Regions from separate parts of the Homo sapiens genome. Here region 1 is linked to region 2. The links are contacts of gene promoters, found by promoter capture Hi-C in blood cells and fetal thymus (Javierre and others, 2016). All regions are on one chromosome and are shown on one strand. The core of a region is centred on a gene start or on the middle of the fragment in contact, and the rest is flanking DNA. Distances in the headings are between cores, read along the strand shown.

Region 1 (7,125 bases), core at 1,378-3,877, 190 kb before region 2:
TAGACCAGGCTCCTGCCCCATCCTGGGCTACCCAGGCCCAGCCGGTGCTGACAGCAAAGACAGAAGGTCGGTTTCTGCCTAAAGCAAACGCTCAGCGAGGCTGGAACAGAGGGGAGTGCTGCGTGGTAGGGGCGAGGGCGCTTGGAGGGGCCTCTGCCTGCAGCGTCTGGGTCCCCAGCCCAGGGCTGCTTCTTTAAAGACAAACAAAGGCGAAGATGCGGAGGCTCGGAAGCCGGAGATGGGGAAATCAGTTGTCATAAAAGAGAGATTCAGAGAGGGACACCGCCAGAGTGCGAGGCAGAGAGAAGCCGGGAGAGGAATTCAATGCCGTGTGCGCAGCAATAAAATAATATGACCGCTATAAAAGTTTATAGCGTATAAATTTCTGAAGGTTAAGAAACTAAACAGCAGCAAAGCAAACAGCGAGGGGAAACTTTCCGGAGCTGAGAGAGCCGCAGCTGGGCCGGGGCTCCCGGCCTGGCGGGGGAATGGGTGGGCCCCGCTCCGGCAGCCTTCACCCTCACCCGCACAGAACACGGGGCTCCGGGCTTCCGGGGCGGGGGGTGGCAGGGGGCAGAGAGGGAGAAGAGAGAAGCCGGGAAAGAACACTTTGTTGTCGCAAATGCTTCAGAAATTGCAACTGGGGCTCTTGTCTTTGTTCTTCACACCCCCTCCAGAATCAGGCGTCGGAAACGAGGAGCCTCCTGCGCGCGCGCGCACACACACACACACACACACACACACACACACACACACACACACACTCAGGTCCGGCGGGGCCAGACGTCTGGGCGCGGGCAGCCTCTTGATTCTTTTACAGTCTCATCCTATCCTCTCAGGCCTCCTCTCCCCCGACAAAAAGCCCAACTGTTTCTCCTCAGAATTTGAAACAATCGCGTGGAGTTTGAAAACTGCTCGGTCCCCCTTTTTACAGGCCATAAAGGGCGCACTGCTTTGCGGTCTCCGCTAGAAATTAGGGGCAGGGGTGGGAGGTGTACGTAGAAAGAAAAAAGCTTAGGGCTTCTTTTTTTTCCTCCCCTCTGTTGTGTTTTTTTTCTATTTTTTAGCTTATCTACACAATTTCATGAACCGTTTCCTGATTCCGATGCCCACTCCCTATCCCTCCCCTTTTACTGCTAGTTATGAAAGTTTCTCCTGCTGGCCACCTCTGCGGCTGCTCTCCCAGAAAACTGGTGGAGCCGGTGGCTGCGGCGCCTTTTCGCAGAGCAGCCGCTAGATGGCACCCTTGCTCCATGTGAAACTCCCTGGAGCGGCAGCTGCGGATGTCTGCTCCCGGCACCGCGCCTTGGTCGGCCCTGAATCCAGGAACTGAGTGCTACCAAAAGTCATGAATAATTTGTACCTAATAAAAAAAATAGGGCTCGTTATGGCCTTACCCCCATTTTATAGATTTCAGTTATAGTAGTGTTCCCCCATCTCCTCAAATGGTCAATTTTCTGAATTTTCCCCAAGAGGAGGGCTCAGTGATTCTCACCCAGTTGCTGTGTTCGGTGGGGCAACAAATGCGTGAAAACGGGGAATAATAGTAATAATAGGAATAATGGGTCCAAATCCAAAAGGAGAATTGATTCGAAACAACGAGATTTTCCGTGAAAGGAGGCGAAAGGAATGTCCCTGGATGCGGGTCAGCAGGTCAGGTGAGAGGGGCTAGCCGGCAAAAGAAGGTAGGATGGAGAGGAAGCTGCCCATCGGCTGGAGAGAAAATCACGTAAGCCAGCCCGAGACCCCCCAGTTTGTGTGTGTGGGGGAATGGAGCCATAGCTTTTGTGGGGATTCGGAGATGCCCAAAGCCGGCAGGGCGGCTTCGCACGGGCGCAAGCTCTGGAGCCTTTGTATGAGTCCAGGGCTGGGCTGGGCTCGCGCAGGGCGACCTAGGCACGGGGCAGGGGCTCCCCAGGGCAGCAGGGTGCGGGAAGGCTCGGATGTGGTCTCTGGATGCTTTGCGCGCTCCCAAAGAATGCGCGTTTTCCCATGGGCGCGAAGGCGGGCGCGGCGTCAGGACGCAGGAGCTCTGTTCTCCCTGGGTTCCTGGGCTTCCAGGTGAGAGGTGCGGCTTCAGTGCGCCTTGGCCCTGGCCGCAGGCAAACCTGGGGGCGCCGGTCCTTTCCTCATTGAGCAGCTGGAGGTCTGGACTCCGGGCACTTTCGTTCTGAGACCCGCACCCTGGTTGTTCACAGCCCCTTGCATTCCAAATCTCCTGTGTCCTCCCGGCCCCGCCGGATCCCTGCCTTCCATCCGACAAACCTGCGCCAGCAATAGATACTCCCACCCCCTCAAAATCACCCCAGCTGCAGCCTCTCCTCTCCCCCACCAGGACTTAGTGCAAGGAGGTAAGCGGAGTTTCTCCTCAACTTGAGTTTCTCTAATAAATCTGCGCTCCGCTGGGTGTTTATAAATTGTCTCCTCGCTCTTTCGTTTTTTTTTTTTTTTTTTCCTATAACAGAAACATTTTCCTTCCATCAGGAATTTCTGGCACGGTGTAGAGATGATTTAGAACAAGCCATTGAATTTGTACCTCGCCGGTGAGTTTTCAAATAATGACCATAAAATCCTCTGCACTTGATAAAAATGTTTGCTTCGGCAACAATTTAACTCGGCCCTCCGTTGCCTCACGGTCCCCTCAGCCACGCGCTGAAAATTCAAAGCCCTGGTTCTCTCCATTCCTCCTCTTTTCCTTTATCTCTCTCCCGCTTCTAGCCCCTCTCTCATTCTCTAGGTTCACTTTTGAAGAACCAAATGACCTCACTGGTAAGGTTCCCTTTGGAAAAGTGATAGTTTCATTTTTACAAATGTTGGGGTGTATGGGGTCCCCAAAAGGTGCCCGTCAAAAAAACAAACCACTGTTTCCTGAATAAACAATGGATTGAATATATTTGTAAAGCCTCCACTTTTGTTGCTCAAAATTTTCTTTCTGTCTCTCATTCCTCTCCCTTGCCAATCTACTGCTACAGGAGGCTACTGGTTCTGACCCTCAGACTGGGGCCTTCTAAAGCCTGGCCACCACCATCGTGAAGCCGGGTAGGCAGGGAACGCAGTGGCCACAGAGTGTGGCACCCAGTCAGCTTGTTCCAGCTTTCCGTGTTCAGACCTCTGGTTCCCAGGTCTGCAGGGAGAGCCAGGTTTAACTACAGGCTCCCCAAGGCGAAAGGAGAGAAAATGGGAGACTCAGCAACCTTGCTTTATCTGAATTCCACACCCAAGTCAGTTTAGGTGGTGACAGTGGCTCAAAAGGTCTTGGGGACACTGAGGACTAATAGATGCCCTCCCAACACATACTCTGCAGGCACTGCCTAGGGTGGCTGAGAGCATAGGACAGCGGACACGAAGGCCAGGTGCCAGGGCCTGATACCCAACCTTCTTTCCTTTTGATGCAGTGATGGGCTCAGTGGTCCCCTCTCACCCTTAGGCACTGCAGAAGGTGTGGGGGTCGGCCTGGGAAGGTTGGGAGCTATTAATAATTGGGCTTGGCTACTGGGTCCCAAGGCCTGGGTGCAAGTGTCGGGTAGCCCATTGGGGCTTCATCCCTCTGATGGCATCAGGCCCTCTCCCTTCATGCAAAGTCTGCCCTCAAAAGTGCTGATGGGCTGAAGGGCCTTCAGGAGACCCCCTTTTCAGCAAGCAGAGAGTGCACAAACCTGCAGAATCGGCAGTGGCAGCTCGAACTTTGCTCTGTGCTTCAACCACTGCTCATTAACCAGAAAGTTTCTTCTTCCCTCCCGTTCCCTCCTCAAGATCTCCCAGATCCCTGTTTCACAGAAAATTTTTGCTTATTTGTTTAATGAGAGGAAGTTTTGTGACTGGCCAGGGCAGGGCAGAGAGGGCAGGGCAGAGAAGGGACCTTTTGGGGGCTCCAGAGAAGGGGTGGGGGCAGGTGCTTGCCAGGACGGAAGGAGGTGAAAATCTCAGAAAAGTCACCGTTTGTGCCAAAAAAAAATCCCCATAATCATTCTCATTTCGGCTTCGTCACCCCCACCGTGCTGCAATCGGGCGGCGGGGGCGATCGAAGCTGCAGTTTTATAGCTGTAGAGGAAAGAACTCGTAAAATGCTAACAGCTTTTATGCGCTGCGGCATAAACAACAACAGACTCCGGCTTTATTGCGTTTTATAGTTTCTTAAAGAGTTTACAGCCGTTTTTTGGGGGGCCGGTTATCCAGCCAATTCCCTCCACACGATAGTTAAACCTTTATCAATAATAAGGAAATTGATCATTAAAGCTTTAAATATGACTACCTCGTTTGTTTGAAAATACGTTTAGGAGAGGAAGCTGTATGATTTGATAACTTGTATTAAAATACCAATTACATTTATAGGACCTTTTAAAACTCGGCGCAATTAAACCGTGTTCTTTTACATTTTTCCGAAGCGACCCTGACATTTAGAAAGACTCCAATTGCCTCGTTAAAATCGCGAAATTAACAGCGTGCCTACGCCTGGCGCGTTGTGTATGTGTGTGTGCGTGTTTTTTTCCGTGACTCCCCCACATCAGTCTTTGGGGGTGGTCTGCGAAGGTATTTGATTTGTTGTGAGGCGAGAGATATCTCATTAATGTAGGTAGTTAAACAGATTTAATCCGTATTCATTCTCTCTCACCCCCTCTCCCTCTCCCCCTCTCTCTCCCCCTCTCCCCCTCTCTCTCCCTGGGTGTTTTTTTCTTCCCCTCCTTTTTTTTTTTCCGCTCTCTCCTCACTCCCTGGCGCTCTCTCGCTCTAGCTCTCTCTCTCGCTCGCTCTCTCTCGCTCTCACCCTCGCTCTGCGTTCTGTCCGGGAGGAGTACGAAGAAGCCAATAGGATGCGGGGTCTCTAATGGATGCAAATGATCATGAAAAGACAGTGCAAAATATGAAACAACTCATTTGCAGGGAAGTAAATCACCGAAAACTGTTTATGAACTGGCATCCCTTCTTCGAAATGTAAAGCGAGGACCTCTTTAAGTGGTGGTATATTTTTGTTTGGGGGGTGGGGGGTGGGGGGAGGGCGAGCGAGCCGCGGCTGCCATGCAAGCTTAGACTTTTGGAGGCTTCTCTGTCCTTTTCTATTCCTGGAAACCACAAAAAGTGTGTCGGCTTCGAGATCTTCTTCGCCTTTTCTTTCTTTTCTTTTTTTCCCTCCTCTCTTTCCCTCTCCTTTCCTGGCGAGGGTGACTAGGAGCCGGCGAATCCGCGTTTTTTTCTCTCTCTCCCTCCCTTTCCCCCTCCCCACCCCCTCCCCAACAGCCCCCAACTATAGCCTCCGCCGCCGCCGCCGCCTCAAAATTCAATAAAATGAGCTCTTATTTCGTCAACTCACTGTTCTCCAAATACAAAACCGGGGAGTCCCTGCGCCCCAATTATTATGACTGCGGCTTCGCCCAGGACCTGGGCGGCCGACCCACCGTGGTGTACGGTCCCAGCAGCGGCGGCAGCTTCCAGCACCCGTCGCAAATCCAGGAGTTCTACCACGGGCCGTCGTCGCTGTCCACGGCTCCCTACCAGCAGAACCCGTGCGCCGTGGCGTGCCACGGGGACCCCGGCAATTTCTACGGCTACGACCCGCTGCAACGCCAGAGCCTATTCGGTGCGCAGGATCCAGACCTGGTGCAGTACGCAGACTGCAAGCTTGCCGCCGCCAGCGGCCTGGGCGAGGAGGCCGAGGGCTCCGAGCAGAGCCCGTCGCCCACACAGCTCTTCCCCTGGATGCGCCCGCAAGGTGAGCTCGCCTCGGGGCCGACAAGGGCAGGAGGGGGCCGGAAGGGCCCAAGGCCTGGCAGGCCGGGGCGCATTTCCTCCAGCTTCTGGAAGACTTGCCGGCTCCGTTCCGATCGCCTGCCGCTTTTCCCCTTTCTTTCTTATCTTTCTTTCTTCTTTCTTTTTTCTTTCCCTTGAAGGGGGTCGCTTAGAAACATTTCCTGAATCTATAAACCCCTCATCCTGCCTTACTTTTCTTCTTCTTCTCCTCCTTTTTTTCCCCTTTTACTGTTTTATGGGGGGTAGTGAAGAGAGGGTGGTGGGAGTGGGGGCGCTCAACTTTTGCACTTCTCAATTGCTTTATAGTTTAATTACCCTGAAGAAACTTTTCTTCTGGGGCAGAGGCTCTGGGGGCTTTTCAAGGTGGGTCCATTCGTCCCCACCCGGCTTTTTTATTCTTATTTTCCCCCCTCCTTCACATCCTTCCTCCTAAAGTTTATGGCACTTCTAATAGATCTGAACCACCTCCTACACAACTCTGGTGCTGGTTACCGGGGGAGGGGGCTCCCCTTTCTGGCTCCCTTAGATTCACTTGTGTCTAATCCCCCTCGCCCCTCCTCCTCCGCCGACCGCGGCCTTCTTGCGCCCCCCCCGCCCCCGCACGGGGTAGAAGGTCCCCTGCCCTTATTATAATGGTCTCCCAGGCTCGTTCACGAATCTTCCAACCTTCTCCGTCCCTGCCCCCTCCCCCACCCTCCCCTCCCCTCTGTCTCGCCCTTTCCCCCATTCCCAGCAGCCGCCGGACGCAGGCGAGGCCGACAGACCTACAGCCGCTACCAGACCCTGGAGCTGGAGAAGGAGTTCCTATTTAATCCCTATCTGACTCGTAAGCGGCGAATCGAGGTATCGCACGCCCTGGGACTGACAGAGAGACAGGTCAAAATCTGGTTCCAGAACCGGAGGATGAAGTGGAAAAAAGAGAACAACAAAGACAAGTTCCCCAGCAGCAAATGCGAGCAGGAGGAGCTGGAGAAACAGAAGCTGGAGCGGGCCCCAGAGGCGGCGGACGAGGGCGACGCGCAGAAGGGCGACAAGAAGTAGGCTTCAGCTGGGACTGCCAGGGCCGCGGCCGCCCGCACGTCCGCGGGTCCCGGCCGCGCCGCCGCCGCGCGCCCCTGCCCGAGAGAGCTCTGGCCCCGCTAGCGGGGCCAGGAGCCGGGCCTCCCACCGCAGCGTCCCCCGCCGCGCCAGTCCCCGCTAGTGGTAGTATCTCGTAATAGCTTCTGTGTGTGAGCTACCGTGGATCTCCTTCCCTTCTCTTGGGGGCCGGGGGGAAAGAAAAGGATTTAAGCAAAGGCTCCCTCGCCCTGTGAGGGCGAGCGGCAAAGGCCCGGCTGAGCCCCCCATGCCCCTCCCCTCCCCGTGTAAAAAGCCTCCTTG
Region 2 (6,639 bases), core at 3,923-6,422:
ATCTCCACTTCAGATCCCCAAGAGAACCAATCAAAAACAGAGAATGTCAGAGTCAGCAACCTCTTTGGTCTTCAGGTCCTCTGCTGGGCTCAGCAGTGCCCAACGGGGATATCTAATGTGGTCTAAAGGATAGGTAAAGAAGATTAAAAAAAAAAAAGGATTGGGAACAATAGAGAAAAAATAATAAGAGGAGTGATAGATAAGATAAAGAAGAAAGAAAGAAATGTTACTATTTATTTATTTATTTCAGACAGGGTCTCAGCTTTGTTGCCGAGGCTGGAGTGCAGTGGCACGGCAACCTCGAACTCCTGGGCTCAAACAATCCTCCTGCCTAAGCCTCAAGAGTAGCTGGGACTACAGGCTTATGCCACCATGCCCAGCTAATTTTTGAAATTTTTGAATTTTTTGTAGAGACAGGGGTCTCACTATGTTGCCGAGGCTGGTCTCCAACTCCCTGCCTCAAGTGATCCCCCTGCCTCAAGTGATCCCCCTGCCTCGGCCTCCCAAAGTGCTGGGAATGAAACATTACTATTTAGATGGAGGAGGGCCAACAGTGATGACTTCGTAGAGTGGCTCAGTGATCCCTAGGCTGTAACTATCTATCTTAGGTATTTTTCAGTTCTACAAGAGCTTTGTACCTGATTCTAATGCACAGCTCCTGGTAAGCTGGGGGACCCTGGGTATAGTGCTGGGTCTGTTCCTTATCTTGAATTTGCTCCCTTTGAAGATTCTTTTGAGTTTTTATATAGTCCCTCATACTGTTCCAAGCCTGTACCTCACTGAGAACCTGCTTATGGAATTGTTTCCTGATGTGATATGAGAAGCTGCTTATTTTGTTGTATGTATTAAGGCAGAGAATCTAGGAGTGTGAGCTGGAAGGGGAGACCATTGGAAGTGTATTTGTGTGAGTGTGTGTATAACAGGACCCTCCTAAGTTGAAGAGTTAGCTAATTGGTAAGAACAAGGCTTCTGGCAAGCCGTGGAAACTTCATTTTTAGGCCACTGAAGTAACGTGCCCAAGTTAGCATCTTATGTCCATCTCCTCTGCCTTCAAGGTGGCATGATGCTTGGTTTCTGGAGCCTTGCAAAACATACAGTGAGCCTGGTTCTTGGCACCGACAGGATGCATCATCTCTCCTTCCACATCTCTTAATGAAGTGTGCAGCTCTTGGCCTCATTAGGCCCCAGCATTGTCAATAAAAGAGTCAATAAACCCGGTTGATGGGGTTGGGACCGAGAGGCTGAGAGGCAGTGGCTGCACATCCATAGGGCAGACGTCAGCTCCGCCACATGTCATGACCCAGCATTCAGGGATCAATAACCAGCTCAGAATAAAGCCTCAGAGCCTGCCCTCTGCAGTTTCCTCTCCAGACCCATTTCAGCCAGGGCAGAGCGGTGCCAGCCAGCTCCTGCTTTGCTTGCAGTTGTGTTCCCACTGCATGCCATTCTGGGTGCCAGATGCTTTTGTTTCTTCCTGATTGGTCCCTCTGGACATCCCATAGATGCCTATTTAGCGAGTGCCCACCTGGCATGAGAACATGTAGACAGCATTCCCAAGAAGCTCAGAGGCCAATATGGGCCCTATTTTCTGTGTCTTCTGTCTGCTGACAGTGCGTGAAGGGTCCCGGTGGACAAGGCGGTGTGTTTTCTGCATGTTGTGCTGCTGGACTCCATTCCTGGCTGTTCTACATCTCTTTAGATCCCCTTATCTTATCTAATTACAAGGAATTCCAGATTAATTTCATGGCCTCTGCTCCAAAGGACCTCTTATCTGTGAGGGCCTTGTATTTTAACCTTGTCATTCTTTTGTTGTTTGTCTTTAAGGGGCAGGCAGCTAAGAAGAGGATGCTAAGATCTTGCTGGAATTGGGTCTGGGGGGGACGGGAAGAAAAGGGAGGCAGACAGACCTGAGATTTGTGTATTCTGTTCTGTCCTCCTGCCTGTGTGCAGAGACAGCTGGCTGCTTTCTTCCATGACAGCCACATAGTACCCAGCCACACAGAACAGGACCCAGGCAGGGACTCAGCTACTGCCAACCTCTCCAGATTGCTTTGATATTTCTGACAGAACAGTAAAGGACTCGTGACTATCACGTTTTGCCTTGCCTCTCTTCACCTCCTCTAAGACTCCTCCATGTGGTTTCCATGGCTACCCCCAATCAGATTTGGCTTCCTGCGAAATTGGATTTCAAAAAAGGACAAGGCTTCAAAGGAATTTGTCCATTTAACAGAATGTCATTAGGAGTGGGGCTGACTGCTGAAACAGGGTCCTCAGATGATTAAGGAAGGGCTGCGTTCATGTGTGGAGGCAGATTTCTGTCTGCAATGAGGAACCTTGATGCAACATGACAATACCGTATTGGAATCTGCCAGTCACTCACTACATACTACCCGACTGTGCACCTCCCTCTACCCCTGTCTCTCTAAAACCCAGAGATTCTTGTAAGGAAGGATGCATATAGAATACGTACACTGTGAGTTTTTGGTGTAAGTAAGCTATGACAGGCAGTGAAGCCTGCAAAGAAGTGCAATTACCTGGGTTTACTGCTCTTTATCAAACAATTCATTAGCTGGTAGCTTATATTAGTATGTGACACCATATCCTTGAAGAAGAGGGGGAGGTTATCAAATTTTCTTCTGTTGCCAAGAAGGAAAGCAAGGCAAAGTTTAGGTTGACATATGGGGAGACTTTGCTGCCCTTGCTGTATTTTTTGTGTAACAGTTTAGATTTACCAAAAAAAAATTGAGATGATAGCACAGACAGTTCCCATGTATCTTTCCTTGCTTTTTAGTATGCCTCATAAGTACTTCAAAATGATTCTAGAGCAGCTACAATTTTATAGGTGAAGTGGTGAAGTTGGTAAAAATGCCATGGGGGTACCTGGTACTTGATCCCAAGCCTGAAAGGGGTAGTCTGCCCATTGCTATACTTTCTTTCTTTCTTTCTTTCTTTTTTTTGAGATGGAGTCTTGCCCTGTCACCCAGGCTAGAGTGCAATGGCCTGATCTCGGCTCACTGCAACCTCCGCCCCCCGGGTTCATGTGATTCTCCTGCCTCAGCCACCCGAGTAGCTGGGATTACAGGCGTGCACCACCATGCCCAGCTAATTTTTGTATTATTAGTAGAGACGGGGTTTCACTATATTGGTCAGGCTGACCTCAAACTCCTGACCTCGTGATCCGCCTGCCTTGGCCTCCCAAAGTGCTGGGATTATAGGCGTGAGCCACTGTGCCCAGCCACCCATTACTATACTTTCTCAGGGCAGGAAGGAGGATGAGCAGGAGCCAGATACCCCAGAGAGGCTCATGCCAGCCTCTGTCCCCTCACCCCAATTTACTGCAGCTTGTAGGTGGGTCATGTGACACTGAAACCAATGCACCACTGCTTTTCAGATGGCAGGATGCACTGTACTCCTTAAAGGATCACACCCTCATCTTTGAGGCTGTATCTCTGGATGGGAAACAGTACAAGGAGGCAGGCACTTTTATCACACTCATCCTTCTCGATGGTTTCTTCTTACTGCTCTTGCCCCGTCTGCTAGATTGAGTCCATCATTATTCCCCTTATGGCTGTTGTAAAAACCATTTTACCCACTTCCCCCTGTGTCTTTTCCCACCACTCCTAATCTTTTCTACATATTCTGTAGGTTGAGTCTGAGAATAGAAATGCCATTTTTTACAAAGAAGGAAAAAGGCAGAGGTGGAGATGTGTGAGGCCACATACCACCCCGGAGCTCTGGTTAGGTCATTCCCAATCTCAAAAATTGTCAATGGCTCCCCAGTGCCCTCTCAATTAAGTTCAACATTCCTATTCTGACTTTCAAGTCCCTTCACAGTAGAGCTGCAGTTTATCTTGACAACCATAGTCTTTCTACAACATCCAGTAAAAGAGGGCTACTAACTATTCCTCAAGCTGGTGAGGGCTCTTCCATCTTTCTTTACTCTGGTCCTTCCACCTGGAAAGTCCTCTGCCCCTTCAAAGTCTGGTGTGTTTTTCAGAGCCCATCTCAAACACCACATGCACCTTTAAACACTCACATGCACACTGGCACTTCTTTTTATTTTCTTTCTTTTTTAAGAGACAGGGTCTTGCTCTGTTGCCCAGGCTGGGGTACACTGGGGTGATCATAGTTGGCTGTAACCTCAGATTCCTGGGCTCAAGTGATCCTCCTGCTTCAGCCTCCCAAAGTGCTGTGATTACAGGTGTGAGCCACAATGCCTGGCCTCTTCCCTCCTTTTCTGGTATTCAGCTCCCTTCTTTTATCAACCATAGCACTTTATACTTTTTTCATGGCAGTTGACCTATTGTACTTAAAAAACCTCTTTATTTTGAGAATTATAGATTCACAGAGAGTTTCAGAAATAATAGAGGAACTCTGTCTACCTTTACCCAGTTTCCCCCAAGGGTAACATCTGGCACTATTACAGTACCATGTCACAACCAGGACACTGACACCAACTGTCCCTTGAATGAGACCGTGTGATTTTGTCCTTCACTTTCCTCCCTTCCGCAGCTCCTGGAGGGAAAGGGCTCTGTTCTCCTCTCCCTCAGCTTTCTCCCTGTGTTACCCCTTCCTTTCCTCAGGGCCTTTCCATCCTGAGGGAGAACAGCACAGTTTGGTTTCCTGTGTCCCTTGCTGCCACGCTGCCGCGATTCTCCCAAATGTTGGTGTCCTTATATTGCTTATTGGGAATTAATCATTTCCTTTCAACATTGTGGCTTCCCAAAGAGCGAAGTTTTGCCCTCTTTTCTGGGGATGGAGATGTGAACTGGACCGGCAATTGAGGGGTGCTATGCTTGACGGGGATCTCTTCCTTGGATTCTGCCTCCCTGCACCCTACTTCAGGCACCCCGTGGTCTTTCAAATCTGCCACCGTGAGGTCAACTGTTCGGTGCTTAGGATGGAGTGTCCAAAGCCGTGGGTCCTTTGAGCCTTGTGAAGTCTTTTGTTTTGGTGGGTGCTGGAGGGGCGCACCTTTGGCCTCGCACGGTGCGGTGCTTCCGGCACCCCCAATCCTTCTACCGTGGGGCTCCGGCGTGAGCGCCACGTGCACCCACGCCCCGCGCCCCGTTCCGGTCCCCGCCTGCCGCCCGCGCCACTTCCTGACGCGCCCGGGGACCCACGGCCCCGCCCCGCGGCCGGGCTGGGCGGGCGGCGACCGCGGCTGAGGTACAGGTGCCTCGCGGTGCAGCCGGGTCGCCTTCCAGCCCGTCCGCCTCCCGACCAGGGCCCGCGCCCCGTCCCGCCTCTCTCCCGCCCAGCCAAATGCAGGCCGCCGCCCTCCCTGAGGAGATCCGTTGGCTCCTGGAAGGTAACGCCCTGGCGCAGGCCCCCTCCAGTGCTGAGCCGAAGGCCGAAAGGGGACACCAGGCCTCCCACGGCCAGGCTTTCTTTACGGCTTCGTCACTCACCTCCTTCTAGAACCTTAAGGCTTCTAGAGCCCTCAACTCCCTAGAGCCAGCTTTCCATCCTCTCACCTCAGGGCCCCTTTCACTCCCTGGAGTCCCACATCTTCTTTTGCCTTGAGGCACCTCCACGCCTCCACTTCACCTCCCCGGCTTCTAAAGTCCTCAGGCCAGGTTCTTGGTCCCCCATGCCACCTTGCCTGGTCTCCGACCTGTCCCTTTCTCCAAAGGACTGCCCTACATCTGTAGGGTTTCCCGTCCCCCTCCTTCCCCAGCCACGACTTCCTCACCTCTCACAGAAGACCCCAAACCTTCCTGCTTAGAGGTCCCCGAGGCTCTCCAGGGGGCTGCGAGGGGCTCATGGGATCCCCATGGGCCAAGGCCAGGTGGTTGACGTGAGTTTTTGTCAGTGCGAAAACCCCAGCCCTCCCTTTATCACCCTGCAGACGTCTAGGGGTCTCACCCACCCCAAGGCAGGCTCATTCTCAGTATGGGATTTCCTCCTTTTCTAGAAGTGCCCCCATTGTGGTGTGTTCACCTTCCAACTCCCATTGTGGTGTGTTCACCTTCCAACTACAGTGTCTAAGCGGTGGTTTAAAGAGTTCCGGCCATCCCCGTCAACACTCAACACACACTGCCAACACTCCAAAGAGATGTCACAAAGAGACGTTGCTAACGGGCAGTTTCATCTGCTGGGTTTCGTGGTGGAAGTCACTTTTACTTGCTTTCCTGTAACTAACCTTCCAGGGAGGACAGAGGCCTGGAATCTGCAGTCGCATAAGGCTCCCAGGAGGAAACTATTCAGAATTAAGCCTTTTGGCATCTAAGTTGACATAGTTGACACATATTTAACAGACGGCCTGCTTTGGGCAGGTCATATTTTTGGCAAGCAGTATTTTTTTTCAGTTTCTCTCAATTTAATTGGTTTTATATCTCCATTACCTTGTTATCTCGGTATAAATGCCTCCTAATCAAATATTTGGCAAGTCCTTTTGGTCTCTGTCTGTAGCACTATTTCCATTCTGGATTGCTTCTATGTAAAAGCTGTCAGCTAGATATTTCTTTTGAGGTGAGGTTTCCAAAATCCGTTTTACTTACGATCAGAATAAATCTAAATTTTGGGGGTAGAAAACTATTTGCAGGGTAAAAGAGAATTATCTGGGTGTCTAAGAAGAAACAATCCAGCCTTTCCCTCTGTTGTTGGTTTAATATTAGGCTTGTGAAGGAAGGCTGT

The links. The method cuts DNA at HindIII sites, captures the fragments that hold promoters and counts their contacts. A CHiCAGO score of 5 or more calls a contact.
Region 1: a fragment that was not itself captured here is called in contact with the fragment with the promoter of SKAP1 in region 2 in 2 of 17 cell types (activated CD4 T cells and naive CD4 T cells); the score reaches 5.9 in activated CD4 T cells.

What each region holds. Positions count from the first base shown.
Region 1 is chr17:48,612,863-48,619,987 of GRCh38, reverse strand. HOXB8 (homeobox B8) reads left to right here and starts at 4,696. Exons shown (of 2, transcript NM_024016.4): 1 at 4,696-5,707; 2 at 6,479-7,125. The coding sequence starts at 5,284. The coding sequence ends at 6,786. RefSeq lists an enhancer at 1,955-2,478. The HindIII fragment of the contact is 3,223 bases long and covers 1,016-4,238 here.
Region 2 is chr17:48,428,747-48,435,385 of GRCh38, reverse strand. It overlaps SKAP1 (src kinase associated phosphoprotein 1), which reads left to right and starts at 5,172. Exons shown (of 13, transcript NM_003726.4): 1 at 5,172-5,311. The coding sequence starts at 5,266. RefSeq lists a silencer at 4,999-5,258. The HindIII fragment of the contact is 9,425 bases long and covers 1-6,639 here.